Linked DNA regions of Homo sapiens: region 1 is linked to region 2. Evidence: promoter capture Hi-C in 16 types of primary human blood cells and fetal thymus (Javierre and others, 2016). All regions are on one chromosome and are shown on one strand. The core of a region is centred on a gene start or on the middle of the fragment in contact, and the rest is flanking DNA. Distances in the headings are between cores, read along the strand shown.

Region 1 (4,601 bases), core at 1,284-3,783, 580 kb before region 2:
CCAGGAAACTAATCTAACTTGGGACAAAGTACTACCTTCTCTCCTGCTGAGGATTTGGGTCATTCCCTGAAACAGGCTCTAGTTGAGCCCTTTAGAAATTATGTATGAGAGACCCTTCCTAGCCACATTGGGGCTAGATCAGGCTATAAAATCTTAGAAAGGGAAGGAGCTATTAGACATTATTTAAAATTGCTAAATGAAATACCGACTTCTGTTCATGAGTTTGCTTCTTCCCCATGGACAGGCCACCTCACCCTTTCTAGGCTAGAGACCAAGTTCTACTTAAAACCTGGAGGGAGACTGGACTGAATCACCAACTAGCCCCTCAAAGGGTAAGACCCTATGAGGTCCTTCTGACCACGCATTCATCAATTGGGCAGGAGTTAAACCGTGGGTACATTATACCTGGATAAAAATTGCCCCCGCCTCAGCCCGACCTATCAGGTTAATAGACCTGAAAGGACATGTGAACCAACTAAAAACCTGAAGCTGCTTTTGAAGAAAACATCCACAGATAAGTAAAGCCTTCTTGCTAAGCACCACAGTACTATATGGCTTACGGTGTCTGCTGAAACCAATCTTTTCCTACAATGGGCACATTATGCAGATAGCCTACAGAAGCTCGTAGGGTTTGAGGGCTGTTACCTATCTCTAGCATGTTGGTATTACCTTGGTCGGTCTTGCTCTTACAAGGAAACAACTGAGTACAGTAACAAACTTTTATGAAAAACTATTCCAAAGAAAATCAGGTCTCTGGTGTGCTAACACGAGGAAATGTAAGGCTATGGCCTGGCATTAATATAACCCTTCACAACCCAGGTCACAGAAAATCTTTTACTATATATCAGACTGTTCAACGAACTTTTGAATACACTGCTCCTCCTCTCCTGAAGGAATTTCCCTTGGCAGCCCCCCAAATTTTGGCTATTAATAGCCACTATACTGAGGAAGGTTTTTATCAAGCTTGGGATGATTATCTTTGAATGACTGTGTTCCCCTACCCTTATCCTGCCACCGGCCACATAAATCAAATTGCCCCTTTATGTTGGGAACAACAACAAAAAAAAAAACAGCATTCTTATGATAACTGGCCAAATATCACTAAGAATATGGGCTGGATGCTCCCCCCACCAGTGTGAACATACTCCAGGGCTGCAACAAACTGACTGGTTTGCTACCAATTGGACACAGGCCAGGAATTCAATTGGCTAGCTTCATACGGAGTGCAATGGCTATGTGGGACTAATCTTTGGCCCTGATTACCCATTGGCTAGATAGGACAATATGCTCTGGGATTCTCACAGGTCCAGGGCCATTTGGCAAAAACCAACGGACAACCTGGAAATTTCCCAAATGTGTTGCATCAACGGACCAAGTCAGTTTTCCACTGGTATGACCATCCCCTCTCCATTTTTGTTCCCCAAGTTAGTTTAAAAAATGTTATCTGACATGTTGAGATCCTAACAAATTATACCCAGCATGTGCTGAAGGATGCATTCAAAGGCATCTCTTTAGTCACCTCTCAGATGACTATGATGAAAAAAGCAGTTTTGTAGAACCACATGGCCCTTGATGTCTTCACAGCTACACAAGGAGAACTTGTGCCATAATGAAAACTGAATGCTATGTGTACATTCCAGACAATTCAGGAAACATCACCCTGGCCCTTCAAGATATGTACAAACTGATGCTGTGTCCAACCTCATGATGTCACTAAACCAATGATTATCTTAATACTTCCGGTCAGTACCCTCTTGGTGGAAAAAATTACTGGTAATTCTAGCTATGACTATAGGAACAGGAATACTCCTTGGCTGTGGATTATACTGCTGTGGCACTATATATGTGGGATTGCAAGATCGCCCTTCTCAAGCTCCTGACACCCTGTTCAACAATGTTACAACAAAATTGCCTAAGTCCCGGGACATGTGAATATTTTCAACTGCAGGTAAGTAAGTTCCATTCCTCAGCCCCCTAGGAATGCCCCTTGCCAGCGGGAAGTAGTTAGACTGAGTCAACACCCCAACTGAAGATTGAGGAAAGGAACAGTGTCAGTGGGGATACTGTAACCCAGCCTATATTAGAAAAATCATCAGGTGTTTATTTTACTTATTTTTCTTTCTCTGTCCTTAGCTTCCTCCAGGCAGGATCGCTCGCACGTAGTCATTTTGGTAGAGAGCAGTCACTAACAAGTGATTAACTTTATATCCTAACCCCCAGGGGCTGCTTGCAAGATTAACGTACTTGTTTTTCTTTTAAAGAACAATGATCCTTAGGTCATACTGACCTCCCTGATGGCATCCAGAAATTTGACTGGCCAAGGGACACGAGCAGCTTTGATCATCAGGGAAAGCCCCCAATTACATGCAAAGGAAGGTCATATTTGAGAATCTGCTTCTCCCACCCTCATACTTTGGCCAAATTGAATAAACCTTTCTAAGCATTAATGTGTCAGTGTTTGGCTTACTGTGCACCGGGTACATGAACCTAACTTTTGGGGTTCTACAACAGCAACCTGACTGAGCTAATCACGTACAGCCAAGAACAGCTGAGCTACAGTAGCTCCTTAAAATCAGGGTCCAGATGTTGTTCATAGATGAGAGAAGAGAAAATAACTATCACATGCAGCATCAGACATTCAATGACACAAATCCTCAAAATCAGATGCTTTAAAAAATGAAGCCAATGGCTGGGCATGGTGGCTCATGCCTGTAATCCCAGCACTTTGGGAGGCCAAGGCAGGAGGATCGCTTGAGCTCAGGAGTTCAAGACCAACCTGGGCAACAAAGTGAGACCTTATCTCTATCAAAAATTTAAAAATAAATTAATTAAAATAATTTAAAAATGAAGCCAGGTTGCTCAAGTATTCATCAAGTATTTACTGAGGCTTACTATGTGTTATGATGATGAGACACTTCTTTGAGCCATCAAAGGTTTCTGGCTTCCTCTGCAACTAAAAATAATTACCCTCCCCAATGAAGGGTCTGTGTGTTCCACAGGTATAGCAGCAGAAGAGACAACTTGGAAAAAGTGAAGGTAGGCCAGGCACAGTGGCTCATGGCTATAATCCTAACACTTTGGGAGGCTGAGGTGAGTGGATTCGCTTGAGCTAAGGAGTTTGAGACCAGCCTGGGCAACATGGCAAAACCTGGTCTCTATTAAAAAAAATACAAAAAATTGGCCAGGCATTGTAGTCCACACCTGTAGTCTCAGCTACTAGGGAGGCTGAGGTGGGAGGATCACTTCAGCCAGGAGGCAGAGGCTGCAGTGAGCCTAGATGGCACCACTGCACTCCAGCCTGGGTGACAGAGCAAGACCCTGTCTCAAAAAAAAAAAAAAAAAAAAAGGTAAGCCACAACTCCACTTAAGAGGAGAGGCAACTGGAGAAAGATCCCAGGAGGTTATATTCAACAACGGAGCAATAACACAGTAGTCTTGCTAGACATCCACAGCCTTTAAATGGACATATTCTACTCTGTTTATCACCTTTATAAAAGTTTTCAAGTTTTCTGGATAGTTCTACTCAGTTGATGGCAATTACCCTGCCAGGTAACTTACTCACTATAATTGAATAAACCAGCAATCTGGTTTATCAGTCAGTCTCTCTTGCTCAATTGACAATCCCTAAAAGTTCATCCATTCCTGTGTGAGACCGTATATCTGACAATTCAGTCAAAGGAAGTTGGTCAAATCCCACAACTGACTGCCAAAGAAAGTAATATCTAATCACAAAAATACCACAATTAATTACAGGTAGTAACTAGGTTCTAAAGAAATTATCTCCTAAGTAGATTTTAATATAAATTTTGAACAGTTATAGAAAATAAAGATGGCCTTTGGGTCAATAACAGAACATAACAAAAACACTAAAAATTTCTGTACATAAACACACGCATATCACAAGTCTAGTCAGAAAGAAATACATAGAAAAACAAGATAGAATTTTAAAAATAATTTGCAAGGGAAGTTCTCAATGCTTCAGTTCTAAAATATTGTCTTCTTTTAGAAAAATTTAAGACTGGAATAACAGATTGTTTTTCCTGCAATGCTGTAATTACTGCAAATTTATCAGCAAAGAGGTAAACAGCAATGCAATTTTTCCTTAAGCTTGAATACATAAGGGAACAATAAAGAAACCTGATTAGACCTGAACTAATTAAAAGTCACACCAGTAATTTTCAGGCCAGCTCTGGTCTCCAGGTAGAATTCCAGGACAGGTTTGTATCACTGGGTCCATTCCCAACAGGCTGGATAGGAGAGTCTGGAGTAATTATAAGGATACCACCTTCTTCTATCCTGGGCTGCCCGACTGGCATTGGGCTTCACATTCCAAGAATACCTCCTGTGTGAATAGTCCTCTCCAGGGGGACCAGGAGGAGGGAGATGGTGTCTCTGGTAAACATGTGGATTCTCTGAAAATTTTCTTAAAGCAAAACAAAAAGTAATAAGCCATTACTAGGATTAATACAATAATTTTTATTTATTTTAAATTTATATTTTCATAAAATATTTTAAATTTATAAATTTACAAAATAATATATATTCTACTGTTTCCTACCTGTGTGACCTAAGCAGATAAAATACTTAATTGTTATTTCCCT
Region 2 (4,644 bases), core at 1,581-4,080:
TTTCCTACAGGGGTGGAAAAAGCTGGCCTTTGAGGGGAGTAACAGAGGAGTTACAGCAAGAATCTGTAAAAGAATCACCATGTTCCACTGGTGAGCTGGAGATCACAAACGTATAGTTTTCATATTCTTCTCACCTCTTCTCTTCCAGGCAACAACCCTGACGGGGTTGAGGACCCTGGTTAGCTAAATAAGTGAGGAAGAGTGGAAACCAGGGACTCCCCATCCAGACCACCATCCACCACGGGCCTCTGTTCTTTAGCAGCACCAGAAGAGGCTCCACTCCAAGTCAAGATTGAAGTGGTATCTTTAGGTAGGACTGGAAATTATAATTATTAAAATGAGACTGAGACCAAGGGTGGCTGGAACAACCTTGTGACTTGCCTAAATTCCATTCAGGGGCAAAGCAAGAGCTAGTCCCACCGAATAAATGTAAAAGAGGCTGGGTGCAGTGGCTCACGCCTGTAATCTCAACACTTTGGGAGGCCGAGGTGGGTGGATCGCCTGAGGTCAGGAGTTCGAGACCAGCCTGGTCAACATGGTGAAACCCCATCTCTACTAAAAATACAAAAATTAGTTGGGCGTGGTGGTGGGTGCCTACAACCACAGCTACTCAGGAGGCTGAGGCAGGAGAATCGCTTGAACTCAGGAGGTGGAGGTTGCAGCGAGCCAATTATTGTGCCACTGCACTCCAGCCTAGCGACAGAGCGAGACTCCATCTCAAAAAAAAAAAAAAAAAAAGAGTAAATGTAAAAGAGCAGTAAGAGACAAAAATCAAGCTGCTTTCTGATTTTACCACATAAGTCATGTTTGTTCAATGGAACAGTGCACATTAGCTTTAATTGTTAATTAACACGCATCTGTTAAATAACCTTGTATCTGACTTTGGATTTTAAGCTTTCTGAGGGCAAGGACCATGTGCTGTTTAACCCCACACTGTTCCCACAGCCTGGCAAAGTGCCTCAAATTTACACAGGGGGCACTGAGATGGCTGCTGAGTGAATTGCTGACCAAGAGGGACTGCCCCACATCAGGCAGCCCATGCCATTACTGTGCTCACACTGTGCCCGACACAGAGCAAGGGATCATAAGTCCTGGGTGGCTTGAATTGACTCTTCCTAAAAAAAGAGTCTGTGATCTAGGAAGTCCAATATAAAAAGATGTTGCGGATTGCCCAGACTTAGAGTAAGAGGGGCAGAAATGAAGTAGGCATGGATGGTAATTTTGTTTTTCCATCAGGGCTGCTCTTACTCTGGAGTAAGGAGAGGAAGGCTAAGACACAAAAGGGGGACTCCGCCCAACCCAGCTTATGTCCTGTGATACCAGAAGGGAGCATTGCAATGACCTATTAAACCTCAAACCAAGCTGAATCCATTTCTGAGTAAGAGACTCTTACAGGGCTCCTGTCCTCAAAACTATATAAAATTGCTCAAATTATGTACTTCTGAGATAATAAATTAGCAGAAGAAGCACATAGCCCACCTCTTAAGATAGGGAAGTAGATCTGAAGTAGCTCAAGAAACAAAGTTTTCTACAGATGAAGGATGAGGGAAGGAAACCCAAGACCAGTTGATTCTGGTTTGGGAAATGATAACACTGGAGAACACACTCTACTATCTGTTTCTTGTGACATCCTTTGTGCTAAAGTTATCTCCTTTGTTGGCATGGCCACCATCCCTACTTCTAGTGCAGTGGAGATGTATGAGTGTCTCCATTGCTAAGTGTTTAGTTACTCAAGATAAACTTGACTGGAGAGGGTGTGGGCAGGCATTCAGTCAAGCAACAAGCCACTCACTGAGTGCCACCAATGGTGTGGGAAAAGATGACTCTCCTTAGACTGGTCCATCCAAAATAAAGGAGGTGGGGAGAGCATACCTGGGTGGTCTTCAGGGTACTCCTGGAAACATCCATCAGCTCATGAGCTCACAGCTGAATTCCAAATCCTGGGATGCCTGCTTGGAGGGAGGGTAAAACACCATTTCTCAGGGACAGAAGCCCACAAAGCTAAGGGCACTGGGTTTCTAAGTCAGGATTTCATCACGGCTGGATGACCCTTTTTTAAGGAAAGCCAGCTGATCTCCAGGACTCCTGATACATAAGAGCTATGCAGTCTGTCACTTCTAGGGAGAGAGATGGGGACTAGCTCTGGTTCCTCATGCGTTCCTTCCCTCTCACTCCCTAAAGACCTCAAGAAACAGATCCTTGGTAACAATGCCTTCTTTGGGCCAGAAAGCTTAGTTGAAGTGTGGATTCTTATACAAGTCTCATGTTTTCTGGACTCCTAGGAGACTCAGAGGAGACACCATAGGTAACCCTTATTGAACTGGAAGAAGTGTGAAGTACTATCAACCACTGAGACTCCCATGGCTCAAGAATATGCACAGAGGTCTAACTAGATATAGGTCTCAGCCCCTGACTTTAGAAGTCTGACATTCCACAGATATGCACACACTACACGCTCCCCTCACAGAGGAAACTGGAGTAGGGGGACACAGCAGAACAAAATCGCAACACTACTACAGGAAAACCTCGTCATTCCGTTACTTGTCCTTTGCTATGTTGGAATACTTATAGATTAGTTTCAACAATCAGGTTACTCCTTATCTTTGCTCTAAGTCTTGTACAGGCCTTTAGCAAAAAGCAATAAAATTCTCATCTGACTCTTGGTGGGCTGGGGAATCTGCCTATTCTATTCAGTTGGTTCACTCACATCTCCAAACCAGAACCTACAACCACTCTGTAACTTTATTTATGTAAAATCCACTCTACTTACCCCAGTGCAGTGGCCTGTGGCTCCTGGGCCCTGACTCCAATTCCTTTAGGGTGGACCTTGCAGTTGGAACCATCCACCTCTCGTTTTTTCTATCTCTGCTATTAACATAGCCCCTCCTCTATTGCCTCACCAACTATTTTCAAACCAAAAAGTCTTTGTCTATTCATAGCCACTGTAAAAGTAACATTCATTTTTCTGTTTTTTAATCTAATGTCTGCGTCTTCAGTGGTTCTCACTGGCTAATCTAATCAGTGTGTTCTAGGGAGGTTTATTCCTTGCCTGTTCAGCTTGTCCCAGCACAACAAAGGTAAGTCATTTGCCTGGGGAGAATCAGCTCTTTTAAATCAGACAATCCTCAGGAAAGATGTCAGGACTTTTGCCTCTTTTCTTCATGGGACTGAGATTCAGGAGAACATTCCACATTCCACTGCCACACAGCTCTGCAAACCCCAAATCCTGACTCTCCGAAGAAGGATATGGGCAAGGAAAACAAAGAAGGCATTTGAAAAAACCAAACCTTGCAAGAAAAACTTTGCGTACTTGGTGATTTTTCCAGGTTTATCCTGACTTTTGGCCTCTGTTTTTATGAATTCCATTTTTGTTTAAGTGAAAAAGATACGGTGAGAGAGACATAGTGGAAAATGGGAAGTTTGGAGGAAGATGGGAAGGAAGAAGCCAGTGAGTAGGAAGTGAGAATCGGGAGTGGAGGGAGTGAGGGACGCGGTGCTGAGCGATGGGGAAGAGAAGCATGCCAGGAAGGCGCAGCGTCTCTGGGCACCCAGCATGGGGCCTGGTATATGCACACATTTCCCCTCATTGAACTCTCAACAGTCCAGTGGGGAGAGCATTCTCGTCCCCAACCTTACAGAGCTGGAACAGAAGCTCAGAGACTTACAGACAGGAAGAAAAGTAGGAGCTGGAAGCCCCATTAAAAAAGCAACTCTACCCCTCTTCTTCCAGTCTCTTCTGTGGCTTCTCTAAGGGTCTTCAGCCTCCTTATTTCAGGGTTGACCTTCTCTTTCAGATAGGAAATTTATCATCTGGTTGGATATCCTCACTTTCTTCCTAGATCACGTGGAGTTTTCCCTTAGTGGAAAAGCCTCATTCCTGGATCTAGAGCCTGCTGGTGGCAGACATGTAAAAAACATGTTTCGGAGGCCATGCCCAAGCCAACACATTAACCCAACATTATAGTTTCTGTTAATAATCCATGGAATCAAAGACAGGCAAGACTAGGGAGATCAACACATGCTGGGTCACCAGAGGCTTTCCTGGTTTTAGCACAGAAGATCTGTGACCCAGGAAACCCCTTAGTCCCAGGAAGATCAGCACAGCCTAGGCCAGAAACAGTTTCGGGCCTTAGGGAATTTCCAGCTGGTTGGGGATTCAACAAATTCAGAAGAGTGTGAGGCTCCAAAAAGAAGCACAAAGGGAGGGAAGGGTTCAGTGAAAGAAAAATCACCCTTGTTTGGAGGATTACCTTGTTCCACAAATGTTCATGGCTTACCTACCAGCCCCATGTGTTAAAGAAAAGCTTTGTGGAGAAAATGGCCTTGGAGATGCAGTGAAGGGATAGGATAGGGGTAGGATTTAGAACAGTAGAACTACCAAGGGGTATCTGAGGCAGAGGGAAGAAGCCACAAAAAATATAGACATAAGAGGTGGGAGAACATAGCATAAATATCCTGAGAACTGGAGAGCAGTTTCCCTGGCACAGGGCAGGTTTGGGGAAATAAAGCTTTGGGCATGCGACGATAGGCTGGGTAGTCTATGGAGAGGTGTAAACATCAGCAAACATGTCTGAAGTGAAAGGAATGTGGAAGGGGACTTGGTACAAGAATGGAATAATGGACTTCACAGTGGATTGTAGCACA

The links. The method cuts DNA at HindIII sites, captures the fragments that hold promoters and counts their contacts. A CHiCAGO score of 5 or more calls a contact.
Region 1: a fragment that was not itself captured here is called in contact with the fragment with the promoter of SLC4A5 in region 2 in 5 of 17 cell types (activated CD4 T cells, total CD8 T cells, non-activated CD4 T cells and 2 more); the score reaches 8.1 in activated CD4 T cells.

The regions. Positions count from the first base shown.
Region 1 is chr2:73,758,437-73,763,037 of GRCh38, forward strand. DUSP11 (dual specificity phosphatase 11) reads right to left here. Exons shown (of 9, transcript NM_003584.3): 9 at 3,777-4,423. The coding sequence ends at 4,225. Among named protein-coding and RNA genes, the nearest start is that of DUSP11, 19 kb to the right of the region's middle. The HindIII fragment of the contact is 3,144 bases long and covers 962-4,105 here.
Region 2 is chr2:74,340,586-74,345,229 of GRCh38, forward strand. It overlaps SLC4A5 (solute carrier family 4 member 5), which reads right to left and starts at 2,831. Exons shown (of 31, transcript NM_133478.3): 1 at 2,771-2,831; 2 at 1,873-1,949. The HindIII fragment of the contact is 2,074 bases long and covers 2,229-4,302 here.